Regions from separate parts of the Homo sapiens genome. Here all the other regions are linked to region 1. Evidence: promoter capture Hi-C in 16 types of primary human blood cells and fetal thymus (Javierre and others, 2016). All regions are on one chromosome and are shown on one strand. Each heading gives the region's core, a stretch centred on a gene start or on the middle of the fragment in contact. The rest is flanking DNA. Distances are from core to core; before and after follow the strand shown. Region 1 holds the start of CCDC172 (coiled-coil domain containing 172). Region 2 overlaps ATRNL1 (attractin like 1). Region 3 overlaps ATRNL1 (attractin like 1).

Evidence for each region. The method cuts DNA at HindIII sites, captures the fragments that hold promoters and counts their contacts. A CHiCAGO score of 5 or more calls a contact.
Region 2: a contact is called between a fragment that was not itself captured here and the fragment with the promoter of CCDC172 in region 1, in 1 of 17 cell types (endothelial precursors). The highest score is 5.2, in endothelial precursors.
Region 3: a contact is called between a fragment that was not itself captured here and the fragment with the promoter of CCDC172 in region 1, in 1 of 17 cell types (endothelial precursors). The highest score is 5.3, in endothelial precursors.

Annotation. Positions count from the first base shown.
Region 1 is chr10:116,323,023-116,325,786 of GRCh38, reverse strand. It overlaps CCDC172 (coiled-coil domain containing 172), which reads right to left and starts at 1,339. Exons shown (of 9, transcript NM_198515.3): 1 at 1,174-1,339; 2 at 697-840; 3 at 399-484. The coding sequence starts at 775. The HindIII fragment of the contact is 6,159 bases long and covers 1-1,745 here.
Region 2 is chr10:115,726,513-115,729,386 of GRCh38, reverse strand. ATRNL1 (attractin like 1) reads right to left here. Exons shown (of 29, transcript NM_207303.4): 27 at 2,032-2,139. Among named protein-coding and RNA genes, the nearest start is that of SNORD158, 470 kb to the left of the region's middle. The HindIII fragment of the contact is 1,726 bases long and covers 605-2,330 here.
Region 3 is chr10:115,698,863-115,701,562 of GRCh38, reverse strand. The region is part of intron 26 of ATRNL1 (attractin like 1); the gene reads right to left. Among named protein-coding and RNA genes, the nearest start is that of SNORD158, 490 kb to the left of the region's middle. The HindIII fragment of the contact is 2,223 bases long and covers 244-2,466 here.

The DNA of each region.
Region 1 (2,764 bases), core at 90-2,589:
AGGGGCTTGTTTGAAATTTACATGCAATTGTTATATCAACATAGCACACAAATTATTTATCATTCAAAATGTATATACTGCACCAACTACTTATTAAATAAGTGGAATAATGATTCTTCTAATGACATTGTGCTCTTTTAAAACCTTAACCATCCCACAAAATGGACAATGAATTCTTCATTACCTTAGTTTATTTAGGGCAAATTCGTCTTGGAATTGAAGGTGTCACGGGATTCAGAACTTTAAACATCACCAGGCAACATGGAACTAAAACAGCCAGCACAGAGTAACGTGCTTCCTACTTGAAGGACAACTGGTTAAACACTGAAATATCCCCCAAAAGTCAAGTTAAGGCAGGCTTTTTCAAGTGATAATTAGTATGCTTTACATTTCAATACCTTAGATTCCAGCTTGATTTTCTCTTCATTCAGCTCCTCCGTTGCTTTCTTAATTTTTTCACGACATCTGGTTATTTCCGACCTTACTGTAATAAAAATTAAATCTTTAAACACATCAATCTTTCTAAAGTCCCCATTTTGGTGGCGTTTGATAAGCCACCTTTCAGTTGTCTTTCCCTCAGCATGGCATGCAAGCTCCCCTAACGGCTCTGACCACTGCCTTCGGGATTTCCTTCTGCTCCAAGCACCCAGCATCAGAAGACAAAAGGCCCCATGCAAAGGACAGAAATACCCCGACCTTCTCGCATCAAACGGCGACTCTCCTCCGCCTGATGCTCGGTGAAGATGATGTGCTGAAACAGGGACTCCAAGCTCATCTCAGGGCCTGGCTCCTGCGATCCTTTTCTCGCCCTTAAATATTTTATAACCAACTCTGAGGATCCTGGAAAGCAGAATAAAGAAGATGGATTCTTCTAGAACCATTCCCAGATAGACCTGTCTCCAACCCTCTGTCGCCAGCCCAGCAAGAAGATGGAGCCCGACGCCAGACGGTGTCTGAGGGGTCTGAGGGTCTAGGGACGCTGGCCGCTGCTGCCCCTTCCTGCCCTCAGCCTTTGTTTCCCGTTACAGTTTACAAACCGGGCTTTTCTCCCTCACGCCCTAAGAGGGCAGTTTCAAGGTCTGCCTTTTTCCCTGGCGGAACCCCTGACTCAGGCCTCCGTCCCTCCCTGGGTTTGTTTTTCGCTTTGGTGGCAAATAAAAAGGCTGCCAAGACCTTGGCTTTTGAGGGCGTCTGGGCAGCAGCCATTTCTGTAGTCAGCCTTTCAATCCCAGTCCTCTCTCATTTTAGGGATAACGTCCTCAAGGTGCTCTGTCTTTCAGCAAAATGGTACGTGCCAACAAAACCCACGGCCAAAACCTTCCCTAAGGCTGGAGCCAGTGCTTCAGGTCGGGCCTTGCCTGTGAGAACTTAAACTACGGCGGCTCATTGGGACCATCCTGTGGGGGGCAGGTTTGCCCTGGGCATGTGAACCCCAAAGGTCTTAGGCCCAGTTGGAGTAGGGTTGCCCGGTATCCAAGGCGCAAACACTGAATATTATAAAGTACAAAGTAACTGTGATTCTAAATATAAACTTTTACAAAGTCTTATACTTTGACGATGGCAAAGACTGCTATAAATGTGCAATGTCTGACATTCCGCCTTAATCATTCCTTTGTAATCAGGGCATATCTTTTTTGTCTGCTTTAAAATTAATCATTGCCTTTTGTAATCAAGCTGCAGTAATATTAACACTTCAATATCTGCGCAATATGTGTCAGAGACCAAAGTGGTTGCTAATTAAAGCTTAAACATGAAAGGCACCTTTGGGACTTCTGCGTGGGATTTTTTAAATCAAAAATTAAAATATTTTTAGTTTTAGTAGGTTGAAATATTGACATTATAATAAACATTTGACTTTATTTCTGAATGTAAAATTGGCATTGGTTGAACTTTAAAAAGTAATTTGTTGTTAGAATGTATTTAAAATTAAGTAAAATAAACATTTGACTTTATGAATGTAAAATTGACATTGGTTGAACTTTAAAAAGTAATTTGTCAGAATGTACTTAAAATTAAGTAAAATAAGGTAAATGTTAATTCTGTCACATCACAATAGGCTTAATTAATATTTCATTAATGCTGCAGTCTAATCAGTTATACATTTTAACCTATTCCAAATTTCCGCCTTAATTTCCATCAAGCCATTGATGCATAAAACTTAATTCTTTGAGTTTATTTTAAAAGAATAAATACTGAAAAGTATACAAAGCAGAAAAGAACTGCCCATAATCATGTCATTTAGAAGTACATATTAACATTTTACCAATTCCCTTCAAGGTAACCCTCCTCACTCTTCATTTTTCCTTTATAAATTTGAAATTATTGTGAATCAGTAATAATAATAATTTGTTATTATTTGCCAGGCACTATTTTGAACACCCTATATCCTTTTGAGATAATTTTTGCTATCACCTTCATAGCGTAGTTGAGGAAACTGAGGCACGGAACAATTAAGTATATTGCCATAGTTGCGTACCTCATATAGGGTGGTGAGAACTGAAACCAAGAAATCTGGAATCAGAAGCCATGAATTTAATTTTGGAGTCTACTATTTTATCCTCTTATTACATCCCAGACATTTTACCATTTCATTAAAAACTCTTCATAAATATATATTTATAACTTCATAATCCTCCACCATAAAGAGGCATGTGTAAAATTTAGATATACCAAAATAAGTTTTACTCTTATCTGTTCAAGGGTGAAAACAAAGCTGAAATTGTGGTTTGAACAGTTTTCTTTGAGCACTTGTTTGGAGGCTTAT
Region 2 (2,874 bases), core at 218-2,717, 600 kb after region 1:
AAAGTATAGTTGTAAAACAAAAGGATATAGCGAAATTGCAAATGAAATAAGGAATATCAGAAAATATGGACTAAAAGAAAGTAGGGCTAGACATTTTTTAACTCTACAAAATACAATTTAAGGTTAAAAATTCACAATGATAAAGAAAGAACCAACATTTGGAAAAAATAGAACATGAAGATATGATGATTATGAACACATGGGTACCTAACAATACATTATTGAACACTATTAACGTGCAACTGACAAACTATGGTGACATATGTCTGTGTCATATTTGTTCCTTGAGTTTGTGAATTTTCTAGTTCTTTATTTCTTTTCTTCTTTAGTCTATGTGTGCATTACTTACATTTTTTTTCTCTTGTTACTCGATTTTTAGCAGTATTTAAGAATGTTTTAAACAGATGGGGATAAAAAGAATTTATAATAGTCCAAAAATAGTCTAAGTTTTCTGTGTGTGAAAGTTTTTTATAAAAGTTATTTGAAACAAGGAACCAAAATGAAATTAGAGCACTTGCTGTAACTTTCATTTAATCATTCTTTTTTGTTATTTTTTCCCCAACAAATAGAAGATATACACACAAATTTCCTGATGTTCTAAGCTTCCATGGTAACCTGTGATCTAGAGTAGTAAAAAATCAAGTACACAAAATGTCTTAAAAATCATAGGGAAACATGCACCCAATATTTCATTTCCTCTAAAAACTGACCCTTTGAGTAGCATCCATGAGTTGTGATTTTGTCTTATTTTTTCAGAAAAAACAAAAATGCTACAGACAGAATCTATTATATGTATACCTAGGTTTTTGAATGATTCTATTTTTCCATTCTTTATTTTCCTTGACAAAAAGTAAAATCTGAAAATGGCAACATAAAATTAGTCAAATAAAGACATTTTTAAAAAAGAGAATAAAATGTTTCAATTCTAGAGTTTCTTAACCTTTCTACTTAAATATATCTTACCACATATAAAAGTAAATAAAAGTAATAAACATACAATTAAATTAGTATGCATCATAATGCTTTGAATAGTCATTAATCATAATTTGTGAATTTTGCATCCTTTTTTTTTTTTTTTTTTTTTTTTTGAGGCGGAGTCCCACTCTGTCTGTCGCCCAGGCTGGAGTGCAGTGGCAGGATCTCGGCTCACTGCAAGCTCCGCCTCCCGGGTTCACGCCATTCTTCTGCCTCAGTCTCCTGAGCAGCTGGGACCACAGGTGCCTGCCACCACGCCCGGCTAATTTTTTTTTTTTTTTTTCTTTTTTTTTTTTTTTTAGTAGAGACGGGGTTTCACCATGTTAGCCAGGATGGTCGCGATCTCCTGACCTCGTGATCTGCCCACCTTGGCCTCCCAAAGTGCTGGGATTGCAGGTGTGAGCCACCGCGCCCGGCCGAATTTTGCATCTTTAGGGATTATTATTTTCAGAAACCACTTCATGTATTACTTTTGGATTCTAATACCATATTTAGTTGCATATAATGATTTCTGTTTCATCATACTCTATTTCTGCCTTTGCAATAAAGGAATGTAATAATACAGCAATTAACCACAAATAAAAATATTCATTTTATATGTGAGAAACATTCACTTTTCAACATTCAAAAATGAAGCTATGTAATTAAAATGCAACTCATCTCCACTCGTACCTTTTCTAAGTAAACTTTGTTAATAAAGATAGATGTGAATTGTTAACTTGGTGCACAGAGTACTCCAAAGACTAAATATAGGCGCTTTGTTTCTTCGATCATACCTATATCTTAAATTCCCTCAGCTCCTCTGTCAGAGAAAGGCTGCCAGGTGAGCAGTCTGTCACTCCTGCCTAGGCTAATAGATTCTCCAGTGGCTTTGGTTACAGCTCATGTCATACTATTAAAACTATGTGCCTTGAAAATGGCATAACATATGTAGCTGAATCTTGTCAACTGTAGATAATCAGACTCTGTTTGGCTTCATAAGCAGATGTAGATTAGAGAAGCAATATAATAAATATGCAAAGCACAGTGGTCCTCTTTCAGCACCGCTGTTCCTACCTCTAATGGCCCTCGCAGAAACTCTGTTTGTTCAGCTCCCACTTCCAGAGCTACATCAACAGAAGCAAAGGGACGGCTGGCCATCTGCTGTCGTTCTCGAAGCAGTTGCTGGAGGGGGTTAAAAATGATTTATCTTAAAATAGGTTTAAAAGCACATGAAATTCAACAATATCTGGTTCCCTCTTTTAACAAATGGCATTGAAAAGTTAGGAATCATTTTATACAGATATCCATATCTAGAATACTAAAGATGAAAATTACTTTCTCCCCGTGGCCTTGGCTGTATGTCCACAGAAGCTTTAAATGTACGGTGCCTACAAATAACTTTTCCCCTGACCTCCATCCTGCAGGCCTAATACAATGTACTCAAAAGCACTCTGAAAGCCTCGGGTGAGAGGTGCTACTTGAGTAAAAAGTGTTATTACAGTGATGGCTATGCCAAATTTTCCTACTCAAAATAACTCAGATTTTTGTCTTAGCTGAAAAAGAAAAAAAAAAAACAGTAAAAATATTTAAGAAAAGATAATGAAAAGTTGTCAAAATGCATTAATAGAAATTAAAGGAACATATACCTGCCAAGACTAAGTTTTGTAAGTCATCAGAATCCCCTGTGAACTGCTATGGAACCAGAAGGAATTATTATTGGCAGTGTTTATAATTTTGTTCAAAGCCTCTGTTTATCATTCAAAATGAGGCATGATTAGTAAGGTGCAGAAATTGTGTGCAAGGACTTCTACAGCACCCCCAGATACTTGTTTCTTTCTCTTTGTGACTATTCTGGGCTGTGCCCAGGCTAAAACCAATAAACTAGCAAGTCCCAACCAACTACTAAGCTAATTTATC
Region 3 (2,700 bases), core at 106-2,605, 620 kb after region 1:
TAATCTACCTAGCAGTCTATCAATCTTATTTATACTTCCAAATAACCAACTTTTGGTTTTGTTGATTCTTTGTATGGATTTTTGTGTCTCAACTTTATTCAGCTATGCTCTGATTTCAGTTATTTCTTTTCTTCTTTAGCATTGGGGTTAGTTTTTGTTTTTCTAGTTCCTCTAGCTGTGATGTTAGATAATTAAATTGACATCTTTCTAATTTTTTGAGGTAGGTGTTTAGCACTATAAGCTTCCTCTGAATACTGCTTTTGCTGCATCCCAGAAATTTTGGTATGTTGTATCTATATTTTCACTTATTTCCAATAATTTTTTGATTCCTGCCTTAATTTTGTTGTTTATCCAAAAGTCAATTCAAGGGCAGGTTTTTAAATTTCCATGTAATTGTGTGGTTTTGAGAGATCTTATTGGTATTGATTTCTACTTTTATTCCAATGTGGATTGAGGGTATGGTTGTTATATTTTCAATTTCAAAAATTTATTGAGACTTGTTTTATGACCAAGCATGGGGTTGATCTTAGAGTATGTTTCATGTGCAGATGAGAAGAATGTATATTCTGTGGTTAACAGGTGTAGTTTTCTATAGATATCTTTTAGGTCCAAATGGTCAAGCATAGAATTTAAGCCCAGAAATTCTTTGTTAGTCTTCTGCCTTGATGATCTATCTAATGCTGTTAGTGGGGTGTTGCACTTCCCCTCTATTATTGTGTAGCTGTCTGTGTATTTTCATAGGTCTAGAAGGACTTGTTTTATAATTCTGGGTGCTCCAACGTTGAGTGCATATATATTTAGAATAGTTAAGTCTTTTTGTTGAATTGAACTCTTTATCAATATATAATGCCCTTCTTTGTCCTTCTTTACTGTTATTGGTTTAAAGCCTGAAACTATCAACAAAGTATAACAGACAACATACAGCATGGGAGAAAATATTCACAAGCTATGCAGCCAATAAAGGTCTAATATGCAGAATCTACAAGGAATTTAAACAATTCAACAAGGAAAAGTCAAATAACCCCAGTAAAAAGTGGGCAAAAGACATGAACAGACACTTCTCAAAAGAAGACATATAAGTGGCTAAAATACATATGAAAAAATGCTTCATATCACTCACCATCAGAGAAATGGAAATCAAAACCACAAAACCACAATGAGATACCATCTCACACCAGCCAGAATGCATATTTTTAAAAAGTCAAACAACAGTAGATGCTGGTGAGGCTGCAGAGAAAAAGAAACACTTACACAGTGTTGCTGGGAGTGTAAATTAGCTCAGCCACTGTGGAAAGCAGTTTGAAGATTTCTCAAAGAACTTAAAACAGAACTACAATTTGACCCAGCAATCCCATTACTGGGTATATATCCAAAAGAAATAAATCATTTAACCAAAAAAGGCACACACATTTGTATTTTTATTCCAGTACAATTCACAATGGTAAAGACATTGAGTCAACTTAAGTGTCCATCAATGACAGATGAATAAAGAAAATGTGGTACATATACACCATGGAATTCTACATAGCCATAAAAATGAATGAAATCTTGTCCTTTGCAGCAACATGGATGTAGCTGAAGGCCGTTATCCTAAGCAAATTAACATAGGAACAGAAAACCAAATACCACATGGTCTCATTTAAAAGTGGGAGTTAAACACTGAGCACTCATGGACATAATGATGACAGCAACAGACAGAGGAGGCTACTAGAGATGAGAGAGCAGGAGGAAAGGGCTGAGAAAGTAACTATGGGGTACTATGCTCACTACTTCGATGACGGGGTCAATGGTATCCCAAACCTCAGTCACGTAATGTACCCATGTAAGAAACCTGCATATGTATCCTTGAATCTAAAATAAAAGCTGCAATTATTTAAAATAATAAATGATAAATAAATAAATAAACAAACAAATAAATGTTCTCTGACTGTGAATGGTCCTTTATATCTTGCTTTTTTCACTTCAGCTTATGTTTCTAACATCCATTTATGTTTCTGTGTGAAGCTCTCATTTATTCATTTTACTCCCAATAATTTGCAGTGACACATATCAAGTTTTTAATTCTATGTGAGTTTGTTGTTGAACTCTTTATTCTGTTCTCTTGATCTAATTGCCTATCCTTACGCAAAAAATCACATTTCTTAATTACTCTAGTTTTATTAAAAAACAAAACAAAACTGAGTATCTTGAAAGGCAAGTCATCTAATCTTATACTTCCTGGTCAAGAGTGTCTTGGATATTCTTGATACTTTGCTTTTCCATGTAAATTTTAGAACTATCTTTCATGTTTTATAAAAACATGTTGCAATGGGAATTTTATTAAATCTATAGATCAATTTGATAACTTTACTACACTGAATCTTCTTAGATTCAGTAGAATTGATGACTTTACTAGATCTTTTTATCCATAAAGTAGCTATTCCTCTCCATTTGGTTGAGTCATCATTAATCCCTCTCAACAAAGCTTTATAAAACTTTACAATTTTATGACTTCATAATTTTCTACATAACAATCTTGAGCATCTGTTAAAATTATTCCTAAATAGCCATTTTTGTTGCTAATATAGATTAAAAAAATCATATTTACTATTTGTTGCTGGTGTATATAAATATGAAATTTCCTTTAGTGTATTTAGTTTATCTGGCTACTTTGTTAACTTTTAAATATTACTAAAATTTAATAACTTAATACAAAAAGCA